5 separate regions of the Homo sapiens genome follow, and all the other regions are linked to region 1. Evidence: promoter capture Hi-C in 16 types of primary human blood cells and fetal thymus (Javierre and others, 2016). All regions are on one chromosome and are shown on one strand. Each heading gives the region's core, a stretch centred on a gene start or on the middle of the fragment in contact. The rest is flanking DNA. Distances are from core to core; before and after follow the strand shown.

Evidence for each region. The method cuts DNA at HindIII sites, captures the fragments that hold promoters and counts their contacts. A CHiCAGO score of 5 or more calls a contact.
Region 2: the fragment with the promoter of FOXO3 here is called in contact with the fragment with the promoter of ZBTB24 in region 1 in 11 of 17 cell types (naive CD8 T cells, total B cells, non-activated CD4 T cells and 8 more); the score reaches 15.2 in naive CD8 T cells.
Region 3: a fragment that was not itself captured here is called in contact with the fragment with the promoter of ZBTB24 in region 1 in 2 of 17 cell types (megakaryocytes and fetal thymus); the score reaches 5.4 in megakaryocytes.
Region 4: a fragment that was not itself captured here is called in contact with the fragment with the promoter of ZBTB24 in region 1 in 2 of 17 cell types (total B cells and naive B cells); the score reaches 6.9 in total B cells.
Region 5: a contact is called between a fragment that was not itself captured here and the fragment with the promoter of ZBTB24 in region 1, in 1 of 17 cell types (neutrophils). The highest score is 6.8, in neutrophils.

What each region holds. Positions count from the first base shown.
Region 1 is chr6:109,481,949-109,484,474 of GRCh38, forward strand. It overlaps ZBTB24 (zinc finger and BTB domain containing 24), which reads right to left and starts at 1,271. Exons shown (of 7, transcript NM_014797.3): 1 at 1,150-1,271; 2 at 1-106. The coding sequence starts at 78. It overlaps ZBTB24-DT (ZBTB24 divergent transcript), which reads left to right and starts at 1,696. Exons shown (of 4, transcript NR_187591.1): 1 at 1,696-2,526. RefSeq lists silencers at 962-1,251, 1,332-1,771. The HindIII fragment of the contact is 11,956 bases long and covers 1-2,526 here.
Region 2 is chr6:108,559,658-108,562,183 of GRCh38, forward strand. It overlaps FOXO3 (forkhead box O3), which reads left to right and starts at 1,260. Exons shown (of 3, transcript NM_001455.4): 1 at 1,260-2,172. The coding sequence starts at 1,552. RefSeq lists silencers at 25-94, 1,074-1,293 and an enhancer at 1,737-2,237. The HindIII fragment of the contact is 5,662 bases long and covers 1-2,381 here.
Region 3 is chr6:110,396,250-110,398,775 of GRCh38, forward strand. The region is part of intron 4 of DDO (D-aspartate oxidase); the gene reads right to left. Among named protein-coding and RNA genes, the nearest start is that of DDO, 18 kb to the right of the region's middle. The HindIII fragment of the contact is 1,394 bases long and covers 572-1,965 here.
Region 4 is chr6:110,207,316-110,209,841 of GRCh38, forward strand. It overlaps CDC40 (cell division cycle 40), which reads left to right. Exons shown (of 15, transcript NM_015891.3): 4 at 191-274; 5 at 1,769-1,908. Among named protein-coding and RNA genes, the nearest start is that of CDC40, 28 kb to the left of the region's middle. The HindIII fragment of the contact is 1,293 bases long and covers 619-1,911 here.
Region 5 is chr6:110,059,385-110,061,910 of GRCh38, forward strand. No RefSeq gene overlaps it. Among named protein-coding and RNA genes, the nearest start is that of GPR6, 82 kb to the left of the region's middle. The HindIII fragment of the contact is 2,218 bases long and covers 154-2,371 here.

The DNA.
Region 1 (2,526 bases), core at 21-2,520:
ACTGGCCAGCACAGTGTCACTGTGAGCGTCTGAGTGTACAACAAGCTGCCCAGAAGGCTCTGGCGATGTTTCTGCCATTTTCTTCAGAAGCCACTAAGGGTTAAATCTGAAATAAGAAAACAAGGTTTAAAAAGGAGAAAGCACTGTCTAAAAGGTTAATGCCAGCCCACATGAACTTCCTATTCACTTCACATCATTAACTGAATTTTACCATTACCATTTTTGTCTGTCTACAAACTTAGCTCTGGGCCCGGGCGCAGTGGCCTCACGCCTGTAATCCCAGCACTTTGGGAGGCCGAGGCCGACGGATCACTTGAGACCAGCCTGGGCAACATGGAGAGAATTCATCTATACAAAAAATACAAAAATTAGCCTGGCGTGGTGGCGCCCGCCTGTGGTCCCAGCTACTCAGGAGGCTGCGGCAGGAGCATCACCTGAGCCTGGGAGTTCGAGGTTGCCGTGAGCCGTGATCGTGCCACTGCACTCCAGCCTGGGCGACAGAACGAGACCACCACCTCAAAAAACAAAAACAAAACAACTTAGCTCGCGGTTTTTTTTTTTTGAGACGGAGTCTCGCTCTATCGCCCAGGCTGGAGTGCAGTGGCGCAATCTCGGCTCACTGCAACCTCCGCCTCCCAGGTTCAAGCAATTCTCTCCCTCAGCCTCCTGCCGCACATTAACTAGCTGAGTGACTCTCCAGTATTCATGGAACGGTTCAGGGTCTACCTTCTATAAAATGAAGGAATGGGATTAACCATCTCCAAAATCCTCCGCAAGCACGAACTTTCTATGGTTGCACAACTATTTCAGGGAGAACGAAGCTGCCTCCATCTCCCAGATTATTAGCCATTTCGTATGTGGGAACCAATGTGAAGAGTGAAGAAATGTGCACGTGCAAAGTGAATGTGAGGTAGCTGCAATAAAATACTAATAACTTAAGCTGCGTGGGGCCGCCAGACACACTAGGGGCGGCGCGGAGCCCCCCGCAGCCCCGGGTGGTCCCAGCAGGGAGAGGTGGCGCGGAAAGACCCCCACCTCCCCGCCCAGGCCCCGCGGGCCCGACTGGGGAGCACACGGCGGGGGAGGGGTCGGCGCGGCAGACCTACCGCTCAGGGGCGCCCGGTGGGGTCCGGGTCGCTGCCAACTCACCCGGCGGCCTGGCGGGAGACCCACGCCGGGGCCCGCTGGCCCTCCGCTCCGCCCCGCCCGCCTCTGGGGCTTCTGCGCCGCACCGGTTTCTGCTCCTGCGCCGCCGCCGCAGCCACAGCCACAGCCAACCCGGAAGCGCGGCGCCAAGAGCCGCTTGCGCGCGGACGCCGAACCACGTGGCCCGCAGAGGCGCCCCTGGAGGTGGGGGCCACGAGAGCGGCGGGGAGGGGAAGGGAGGTGAGGGGCGGGGCGGGGCGAGATGGCGGGGCGGGGCGGGGCGGGGCAAGGCGGGGCAAGGCAGGGCAAGGCGGGGCGCGAAGGCAGTTCAAGGGTTGGGGCGTGGCAGGGGAGGGGAGGGGCAAGGCGGGGCGAGAATGCAGGCCTGGGGTCGGGGGAGCCGCGGCGGGGCGGGGCAGGGCGGGGCGAGATGGCAGGCCCGGGGCTTTGGGGCCGGGGCCGGGGCCGGGGCCGGGGCAGGGCGGGGAGGGGCGCGGCTTCGGAGGAGGGACAGTGGCCGGGGCGGGGCGCGGCCAGGGGCGGGGCGGTGTCGGCGCCCGAGGTCCTGCGTGTGGCACTGCCGGGGAGCCCAGGCAGGAGCGACTTTTGCGGTGAATTGGGGGCAATGGACAGGAGAGGCGTTGTGACCCCTCCCTTTGGGAAGTTTTATATCGTATTAAACTGTTAGCTCAACGCCAATACCTTAATTTTATCTCTTCTCCGACACCGAATCTGGTGTTGTTCTTGAATGTATAAAGGCATGAAATCCCCCTTACCGTCATCATCATTGTCATCATCATCACCATCGTCATTATCTAGTGCTAATATAATAACTATTACTTACCTCCTAAATGTTTTTCACATCTGCCTCCTTTTCCTCCCCACTCCTGATGCCTTAGTCTAAGGGAATGAAGAGAGCACTGCAGTCAGAGAAACCTGGGTTCTGAGAGATCTTGGGCAAATTACTTACCCTCACAACTTCTTTACCTTACCTGTAAAATGGAGATGTTAACACTAGTGCCACTTTGGTAGGGTTGCTATTGCATAAACAAAATTAAGTATGTAATGGGCTTAGGAAATGCCTGGTTTAATTCGTCTGCTGTGATTAAAATGATCATTATTATTCAAACTTTCATCATCTTTGTTCAATAGACTGTTTCTAACTGGTCTCAGCTGCAGCGTTGTTCTCTTTAATTCGCAGAAGTACAGAGGATTTCTCCAAGTACATATGAGATCCAGAGACTAGAGTCACTCCTTGGCTTAGAATCCATGTGGCTCCCACATGCCCTCTGGATAAAGTCCAGGCTTCTTAATGTGGTCTACAAGCCCCATCCAGATCTACTCCCCACCTGCTTCCATCCATTTATTTCAGCATTTTCT
Region 2 (2,526 bases), core at 10-2,509, 920 kb before region 1:
GCGCGAGCTCACACACGCGCACTCACACACGCACGCCCGCCGCGCGCCCGGCCCGCCGCCCAGCCCGCCGCCCAGCCCTCCCCCTGGGCGGGGACCCGCCCGCCGTCAGCCTAGGTTGAGGCGCCCTGCGTGTGTCTATAACTTTGTGCTGCTGCCGCGGCCGCCCTGCTCGTGGAAGGGAGGAGGAGGAATGTGGAAGGTGGCGGCGCGCGAGCTGACAGGCGGTTCCTCGGGCGGGCTGCGGCGACGGCCCGAGCGCTTCTCCTTCGCCGAGGTTGCGCGCCCCCTCCTCGCCGTGCCCCGGGCCCGCGCGGGATCGTGCGTCGTCCCGCCGCGTCCCTGAAGGGAAGGAAGCGAGGTAGGCGCCGGAGCCGTGCAGCGGGCGGCCGCCTTCCCGGTGACTCCGGATCTGCTTCCGAGCTGGGCCGGGCGCTTCCCTTTCCCCTCCCTGAGCCGCGGTGTGCGCGCCCCCCTTCTCGCCCGCTAGTGTTTTTAAAGGACTCGGGAAGGGGGAAACTGTCAAGATGGCAGCAGCGGGAGCAAGGAGGTGATGAACGTGCTGGTCCGGGTTTTCTAGCAGCCCGGGAGACTTGGCGCTTCCCGACCTGTTGGAAGATTTATGTTCCGACTCGCTCCCTCCCCCGGATCCCGACTGGGAAGGGGGCGGAGGGGACGACGTCCGCGAGAATGCAAACCACACAAAACCCCGAAGTGGCCGTCCCCGCCGGGCTCGAACCTCTGCGAACACCCGCTGGGCTGCTGCTCCCCCTTCTTTCTGTCTTTCCTTTATTTTTTGGAAGTGACAAGGGCCCATCTGCGCCCAGACCCCCGTTCGCCCTCTGGCCCGCGGGCGAAGAGGGGAGAGGGAGCTGCCCGCGCAGTCCCCGGGCTCGGGCCATTCGACCGGGTGGGGGGTGACGGGGGGTCGCGGAGGCGGCCAGGCTAGGAAAGGGGAGAAGAGCCGAAGACAGCACAGACTTGAGCGGCGGCGCCGCGGGAGGCACTAGAGCGGGCCCGAGCGAAACATAAACAAACGCACGCACACCCGAGCTCGGGCTCTGACCGCGGCTCGGCTGCGCCAGCTCCGGCCGCTGCCCGCTTTAAAGGCGCGGCCGCCCCTCCCCCGGGCGCCCCTCCCCCTTCTCCCCGCCCCGCCGCCTAGCCCGGGAGGGACCTGCGGCTGGGCGGCGGGGGGAGGGGGCTGCCCCGCGCGAGGCCGTCGATTCGCTCGCGGCTCCATCGCGGCCTGGCCGGGGGGCGGTGTCTGCTGCGCCAGGTTCGCTGGCCGCACGTCTTCAGGTCCTCCTGTTCCTGGGAGGCGGGCGCGGCAGGACTGGGAGGTGGCGGCAGCGGGCGAGGACTCGCCGAGGACGGGGCTCCGGCCCGGGATAACCAACTCTCCTTCTCTCTTCTTTGGTGCTTCCCCAGGCGGCGGCGGCGGCGCCCGGGAGCCGGAGCCTTCGCGGCGTCCACGTCCCTCCCCCGCTGCACCCCGCCCCGGCGCGAGAGGAGAGCGCGAGAGCCCCAGCCGCGGGCGGGCGGGCGGCGAAGATGGCAGAGGCACCGGCTTCCCCGGCCCCGCTCTCTCCGCTCGAAGTGGAGCTGGACCCGGAGTTCGAGCCCCAGAGCCGTCCGCGATCCTGTACGTGGCCCCTGCAAAGGCCGGAGCTCCAAGCGAGCCCTGCCAAGCCCTCGGGGGAGACGGCCGCCGACTCCATGATCCCCGAGGAGGAGGACGATGAAGACGACGAGGACGGCGGGGGACGGGCCGGCTCGGCCATGGCGATCGGCGGCGGCGGCGGGAGCGGCACGCTGGGCTCCGGGCTGCTCCTTGAGGACTCGGCCCGGGTGCTGGCACCCGGAGGGCAAGACCCCGGGTCTGGGCCAGCCACCGCGGCGGGCGGGCTGAGCGGGGGTACACAGGCGCTGCTGCAGCCTCAGCAACCGCTGCCACCGCCGCAGCCGGGGGCGGCTGGGGGCTCCGGGCAGCCGAGGAAATGTTCGTCGCGGCGGAACGCCTGGGGAAACCTGTCCTACGCGGACCTGATCACCCGCGCCATCGAGAGCTCCCCGGACAAACGGCTCACTCTGTCCCAGATCTACGAGTGGATGGTGCGTTGCGTGCCCTACTTCAAGGATAAGGGCGACAGCAACAGCTCTGCCGGCTGGAAGGTGCGTACCCACCCCGGGCTGGCAGCAGGACCCGCCGGGCCTCCTGCGCAGCGCGAGACGCGTCTCGGATTCGTCGGAGTGCGCTTGCGGGCTCCAGGGCAAGGGGTTGGCAGGGGGAGCCTCCGCTGCGAGGCTTTGGGGGTTATCTTTGATCCCCGGAGTCGGGGCACCTGGGGACGGTCTCGGAGGGGTGAATGAGGCTCCCCAGAAGCTTGGGGCATGGCCAGGTGAGGAGAGGGGGCAGGGGACGCCGGCGAGGGAAGGGCGAACGGACAGGAGTACATTTGCTGGATTCTCCGGACAGCACCGAGGAGGTAGGTCCGCAGCCAACTTTGGAGTAGAGTTTACCGTAGT
Region 3 (2,526 bases), core at 19-2,518, 910 kb after region 1:
ACACTCCCTCCCTCTGCAGAGACCTCTGAAGTATGTCCACCGAGCAGTTTCAAGAACAGTTTGAAACCTCTGGATTAGACTCACTGATTATTCAACAAGTATTTGTTGAGGGCTTGTACTGTGCCCAGCACCCTTAGGAGGCAAGAAGAACTCAGAGGCTATGCTTGCTCTGAGATCACATGAACCTGCACTGCACTTCCTATTAAATGCAAGCTGCATTGCCAGCATCAATGCTTCAAACAACAGAACCTAAATTCGGTTGCTTTTTATTCTAAAAATCCAAGGAAGGGAGTATATTGTTTACCTGAGACAAGGAAACCAAAGAAAAGAATCTGGCAAGCATCTACACTTTGGGGCCACAGAGAACCAATAAAGCCAATGGATTACTTTTTGATGTAATTAAAAGTAGTTAAAAGAGAGAGAATGAAGCTGGAGCTACTGTTTTGTTTGTTTGTTTGTTTGTTTGTTTGTTTTATAAGTAAAACTGTTCATAGATAAAAAGTACTAAATATAGCAAATTTTATGGGGACAGATTGTTTTTGGCTCTCTCAGTAAGAATAACCAATTTAGAAGCTTAAATTATGTTCTTAAACATGTAATAATAGATAAATGTTTTTAAAGGTAAAATAACTGTAAAGGTTGTTTTTCCCCTTAACATTGGCATAGAAAGAAAAGTAAATTGGAGTTTTGTAGTAATACTGAGCAGCATGTTTCTGTGTGTTTATAATCTTCCAAAAAGTGAACACGAAGAAAAGAACTTTAAAAAGAGCTTAGGAGGCCTCTACCCTTTACCATTCATATGACCTCGGCCAAGTTATTCCACTTCTCTAAACTTTAATCTTATATCCATAATATGGGGGTAGTAATACTGACTCTCTAGGCTCGTTGTGAAAATGAAATGAGACACATCTGGAAAAAGCATAACACTGTGTCTAACACACTATAGCTGCTCAATAAAGACCTTTTATTTTTAAAAAAGTGCTTAGGGGTTTTTCATGCTACTGTAAAATACAAGACCCAGTGCATTATCTATGTGTATTCTTATCCTCCATACCTGTATATCACTTATGTTTCATTAAGGATGATATTTCAATTTTGAAAAGTTTTAACTGATCATTATTTGAATATTATTTTGATTTTGTGGGTTTTTTAAATTCTTACATTGTAGATTCCATGTGTTAATATTTGAACATTATGTTCTGTGCTCTAGATATCCTAATTAATTAAAACTCAGAATTATTTTCATAATTTGGGGGAATAAGAGAATCTGCCAGCCTTGGGATATCAGCAGATTTTTAAAACTCACTGAAATTGTTTCCTAGGGATAAGAATGCCTAACTTATAGGGTTTTTATGATGATTATGCAAGAATTCAATAAGTGCAAATGTCTTTTCTTTTCCATTTCAAGGGTTCCCTGCTGGTCAAGCTACTGATAAAAGTCCAACTTGTGCCTGGTGACTTCTTAAGCTATCCTAGTGGCTGGGCCTTGTCAGGCTTCCTGTGCTGGATTGCTCCCAGGCCTTGGATCCCAGAGGAAAACTCACTAAATGTGCCTGGAGACTGGTCACCTTTATGTTGTTGTAATGCAACCACATAGTGATGCCCAGTCATTATTATGTATCCCATGGGTAATGCATAAGATGGCACCAGTGCATAGGAGGAAACTGTACCCAAAAGTCAGATGTTAAATTAGGTGACCAAGTGCCTACCAGGCTGCTTTTATGACCATATGAGGTAGTTATTCTGGAAGTTTGGGGTGACATGGTTGGAGGTACAAGAAGCATGATGACTTTCCTCTTGGGGCTTCTTGCAACTGAGCAAGACCTCATCCTGGAGAGAGAGAATACCATTGTCCCAACCTCCCATGAGGAAATAGGGTTAGGGGCACTCAAGAAGCAGGGCTCACGAAATAGCCCCAGCATCCTCTGGTCATCACCCTAAAACATGAGAGTGTCCATTTCCCCAAGCTTAAGTTAGCCCTCTGCTGGACTGCATCAACCTGACCCACAAACAAGGAGGATGGTCATCCTCAGCGCCTTTCCTTCACCTCACTGGGAGTTTCAGCAAGGAGGTAAATTGAGTTGGCTGTGCCCCTGAGGAAAATAAGGGTCCACTAAGCAAATCTTAAATGCGTACACACACACACACACACACACACACACACACACACACACACACTTGGCCTCCCAGGAGCAGAGTCCCCTCATCCCCTCTCTGCTCTTGGAATCAGAGGCAATTCCCATACTCCACTGAAGCTGAAGCCATGGCGAGAAAGGAATCTCAGGTAGCACTAAACAGGGAGGTGGGGGCTGTGATGCGGACAGCCTGTGGCTGGCAGCGGGGACAGGGGAAAAGACGAGCTCCTGGTGAGCTCCAGGGCAGACATGGCTGGCTAATGGGGCTAATGATGGTGCTGAGGAAGCCAGTTTCTTTCACAGGCATTGCTGTGAGTCAGGCCGAGCAGGAGAACACAAGATACAGGAGAAGAAAAAGATGGGCATTAGAGGACTCCCCCAGAGAAAGTTA
Region 4 (2,526 bases), core at 15-2,514, 730 kb after region 1:
AAAAAAAAAAAAAAAAAAAAAAGGAAGCAATATAGCTCAGGGCAGAATGATTGGTCCTGATTGGTCCTGAGTTAGAGATCATTTTTGACATCTGGGAAAGAAAATGTGAAATGTGTATATTTGTATTATAATAATAAAATGAATTTAAACAGCAAAATGGAGTTAATAATTTTCACTTTTTTGCTTTCAGGTTATGCATTAGACCCTTCATTAGATAATCATCAAGTGTCTGCTAAATATATTGGTTCTGTAGAAGAAGCTGAAAAAAATCAAGGTAATTTATTTGAAACATTTGATATCATATATACCTACACATCTATAATTAGTGTCTTGCAGAGTGACTTTAATTAGACAGTAAAAAATAGTATTTAGCGCTTTTTTTTTTAAAGTTGAAACAATGGAGCGATACAGTTTAGAGCAATATAGTTCAGAAATGTTACAGTTTAGAGCTTGCTTTTGCCGCTTACTAGTTGTGGAATCTTGTAGGGAAAATAATGATACATATCTCTTTGAGTTACTTTGAGTACTTGGCACCATGCCAACCCTGTAGAAATCACTCAATAAATTACAACTAATGTATAGATAATTTTGGCAATTGATTTCTCAACATTAATGTCAAGCTTCATTTTAACAGAGTAGAAATACTTTATTTGGTAAGTCTGTGAAGATTGTCTTTGAAGAGTTGCTTTGAAGGTTGAGTTTGAATATGTGTTGTATGTATGCTTGTATTCATATTCATTTTGTACTTACAATAAGACAAAACATCATACGCTAAACGCTAACTTGTCACAAGCCTCATCAGTCCATTAGAATATTATCCATAAAATGCAATTTAAAAAGTAATTTGCTGGTTGGTTGCATGGGACATTTGTGCTTAGTAGCTATAGATCCTATGTGATCTGGCTGGTCTCTGTATATGAGCTAGATTATTGTTAAAATAGAATTTTAACAGGCTTTTGCTATAAAACATAGCCTGAATTAATATAGGTAGACATTTCTTCTTTAAGCTAGACCTCTGCAAGTCCCATCTAAAGGTAGCTAGATTCTTAGTTAACTTGTGACTATGATTCCACAAACCTTTCTTTTTCCAAGTTAATGACTATACACAGTATGCCACCTCCTACTAATCAAATCAAAATCTCAACCAGAAACACCCTCCTTCTCCTTTTCTTTTACTGTTAACGTTAATGATATTAGAGGTCAAGATGAGACTGAAATCACTTGGAAGGAATACCATTTCTGGTGAAACCTTGTTTGATTTACATTTTTGCATTACAAGTGAAGTGAAGATAAGTTATTAAGTACTTACAGTAATTTAGTTTAATTTAGTTTTAAAATGATAAATTACAGTTTATTCTTGCTTCCAAATGTCACTTTATTATTACTTAGCAATAATGAGTTTCTGAGTTTTTTCCAGAAAGTCGTACAAATCCACTGACACAGCTTTTTGATTCAATAAAAGGCTTGTGCGCCATTGTAGGAGTACATATTTGGGTCTCTTCTTTAAGTATACAGTATTAGAATTTGCAGAATATTGAATTAGTTTTAAGTGTCTTTGCCCAGAAGGTTGAATCCCTTTTTCTGTAGCATGAGTCAGCGTATATGGTAGATTCATGTAGATTGTTTTTTAATAACTCTGGGGTCACTTGAACAATCATCTTTCTTTAACCATATAAAATAAAATTAAACATATGTTCATATTTCTTTAGAAAATGTACATCTTTGTAATCTCTCAGTTTTTTTTTTAATTTTTTTTTTGTTAACGTAGGTTTAACTGTATTTGAAACTGGTCAGAAGAAAACAGAAAAGAGGAAAAAGTTTAAAGAAAATGATGCATCCAATATTGATGGTTTTTTGGGACCATGGGCAAAATATGTGGATGAAAAAGATGTAGCCAAACCTTCAGAAGTAAGCTTTGATGTTTTTAATTGTCAATTCAGGTATACGCTGTATCTCTATGAAGGATATCTACATTAATAAACTTGAGATTTCTTTAGAGAACCAAATGACTCATCAAAATTTTTCTGCCTTTAGTTGATTGAAAATATACAATAAAATTTATTTGTTTTTCTTTGGGATATTTTTATTTACCTTTTCTGCTGATTTGTTTTCTCTCATGCTTTTTTATTAAAATACAATATTGAACAATTTTCATAAAGATTTCCTTGATATTGCTATTAAGCTGCCATGGTAGCTACTCTTCTGATACTAGACATTCAGATAGTAACTACAAAATCAGCCTTCTGTGACACTAGAATTGATTATAAATTTTATTGATTTATGAATTTATTTAAAATTTTCAACAAATTTTATCTCTATATATATCTTAAAAACTACTATAAAGTTTGTAAAGTAAATGCTCTGCCGTTCCCTTCCTCACCTCCTAATCTCACTGTCTCCATGAGCCAGAGAGTGTTCTAGGTCCCAGGCATACAGCAGTGGACAAGATCAAGAAAATCATGACCTCATGAAGCTTATATTCTAGCTGTTACTTACATCCAGTAAATCCATGTTTATAGTAATAGA
Region 5 (2,526 bases), core at 13-2,512, 580 kb after region 1:
TATTATATTTTGTTTTTTAATCCAATCTGACAGTGTCTTTGGTGAGTTTAACCCTTTTGCTGCTAAATTAGGATTTTGTTCCATTGTCTTATTTTCCACTTGCTTTATTCTGCTTTTTCTTTTCTCTGTTCCTAAATTCCATTGAATAGAACAAGCTTTCTTCTGTAAGACTAAAAATTATACATTGCTTTTGCCTTACGGTGGTTGACCTTCCATACTCATGTTTATATCTATTGTTTCATTAAACTTAGCAATGTCTAGATCATCTTTCTTGCTTTACTATGAATCTCATGTTCCCCTGGGCTTCCTCTCATTTTGCTACATCATGCTGATAGAACTTTAGTTCTGGGATGCTATATAAATATATTCCCTCCCATTCTAATTTTTAAGACAATAGTAAACTCTACCAAGATATGTGATTACCCTTTCTTCCTATAACTTGCTTCACCGTGTGGATTTATTTCTCTTATTATTTAAGGACTTCTCAAAGTGTTTTCAAGAATGGATCTTCCTGTGGAAAAAACTTCTGAAGCTGTATATGCCTCGGAATATTTTTATTGTGTCGTTACATTTGATTAAGGTATTGGTGGGATATAATTCTTTAATTCCAGAAAATTTATCCCCATTATGTCTTCAAATATTGCCTGTTGTCATTTTTCCTTTTTTTTCTTTCTAGGTATCTGATGCAGATGTAGACATTTCTCTGTCTTCCATATCTCAGCTTGTTTTTAAAAACTACATATTTTCTTTCTCCTCTTACCCTTTTCTGTTGTGTTCTGGGAGAGTTTTTCAATCTGATCTCCCAACTAATTGCTTTTTAGCTATATCCATCCTACTAGTTACCCCATCTATGGAGTTATTTCGTTGCTTGCCTTTTCCATACCTAATATTTCTACTTGGTTCTTTTGTGTGATTTTTATTTTTGTTAATGTAATTTCTTATTTCTTGAGACATATTTATAATGCTTATTTTAAATTCTTGGTCCACCTGTTCAAATACTTCTGCCAGATGGTACATGTTGTGCAGTTTGCTTGTTCATTTGGTAGTTGTATTGCTCTAGTCATTTCGGCTTTTGAACTTCTTTTTCTCTCCTCTCCTCTACTTACCCTACCTGGTAATGTTTCCTCTGTTCCGTTTTGTGATGTGTATTGGGAAAAGCCCAATGATGGCTTAGGCTCTTGGTGGAGAGCCCTATGCACCGTGGAATCACGACTGATTCCTGTGGGCTGTTGGCTTAGAGTAGCCAGAAAACTTCTCTGGTCAAGGTTTCATCTTAAAACCTTTAGGATAAGGCAAGATAGAAAAGAGATGGTCCCCATCACTTGGGCTGTGGAGAGGATGTGATGGATGAATGTAGGAGGTTAGTTGTTCAGTCTACAGCTGTTTTCATCACTTTTCCCCTTTGGCAGGGCTTTGATGCTGCCATGAACTTGCCCTGCAGACACCTGCACCAATAGCCCAGGCTGCTGCCACAGAGCTCTGCACTGAGGAGGTGGCAAAGGACTGCCTTTCTCCAGGCAGTCTCTTCACTGCTGCTTCGGGGTTTCTCCACCTTGGGATATAGCCACCCCTCCACAAACTGCAGTTCAAGAAAATCTTCATGCCCCAGGCATACAATTTCATTACACACGCACACGCACACACACCACACACTTCTTTGTGCTAGGCTTTCTGCTTTCATGTCAAAAATTCCCAAAGGGGAGTGGGAAGCCCTAGGCCACTAAGGTGAGCTTCAAATGCCTTTGCAACTTCAACAGCAAAATGCCAGGCTCCAGGAGGATGTGACAGAGGGCTCTGGGTGATGGGGCTTCCCCTCAGTGCTGAGGTGGTGCTTTCCACGCAGGGTACCCGAGAGGAGAGGCTCACAATGAAGCCCCGGGAATGCCTGCCCCACCATGGCTCCTGTTTATTGGGGAGTTTTGTTTGTTGCTTTCATTGTTGTTTTTGTTTGTTTTCCCAAATGTACATTTCCCCATTGCTTCTGTTTTTCTACAGCATTGATTAGCAAGCAGCTTGAGCTAGTTTTACCATCTTGCTAGCAACCTATCATAGTAAATAGTTAATCAATGTTTGTAATTGATTGGCAACGCTAACAAAAAAGTATGTCTTTCTTTCCAGTTTGTTTTCTTAACAAGAAAAGGTTCAGCTGGTTAAAAGGTATAGGTATATCCCTGACAAAAGGGGATAAAAAAGGAATGGATTATTTTATTGTGTGCCCACTAAATCCAGGCATTTGTTAAATACTAAATATGTGAGTTGAGTATGAAATTTCCTCCATAAATTTCTTTTCATCTACTTCACTAAATTAGATAAACCACTCTGGGCCCCCACCCACCTGGCTAGGAGAAAAGTCAGTCTTGGTGATGAAGGAAGCTTTCCCTTCCTTGGATCTTACCGAAGTCCCAGAAGAATGAGTCTTCTGCAGCCTAGATCTTTGCTGAAAGGGCACCTGCTTGTCGGCTCCCACTGGCCTGTTGGGGGACTCTATACTATAGTTGTGTACTGTTGCTATAGTGCACAGCCCAA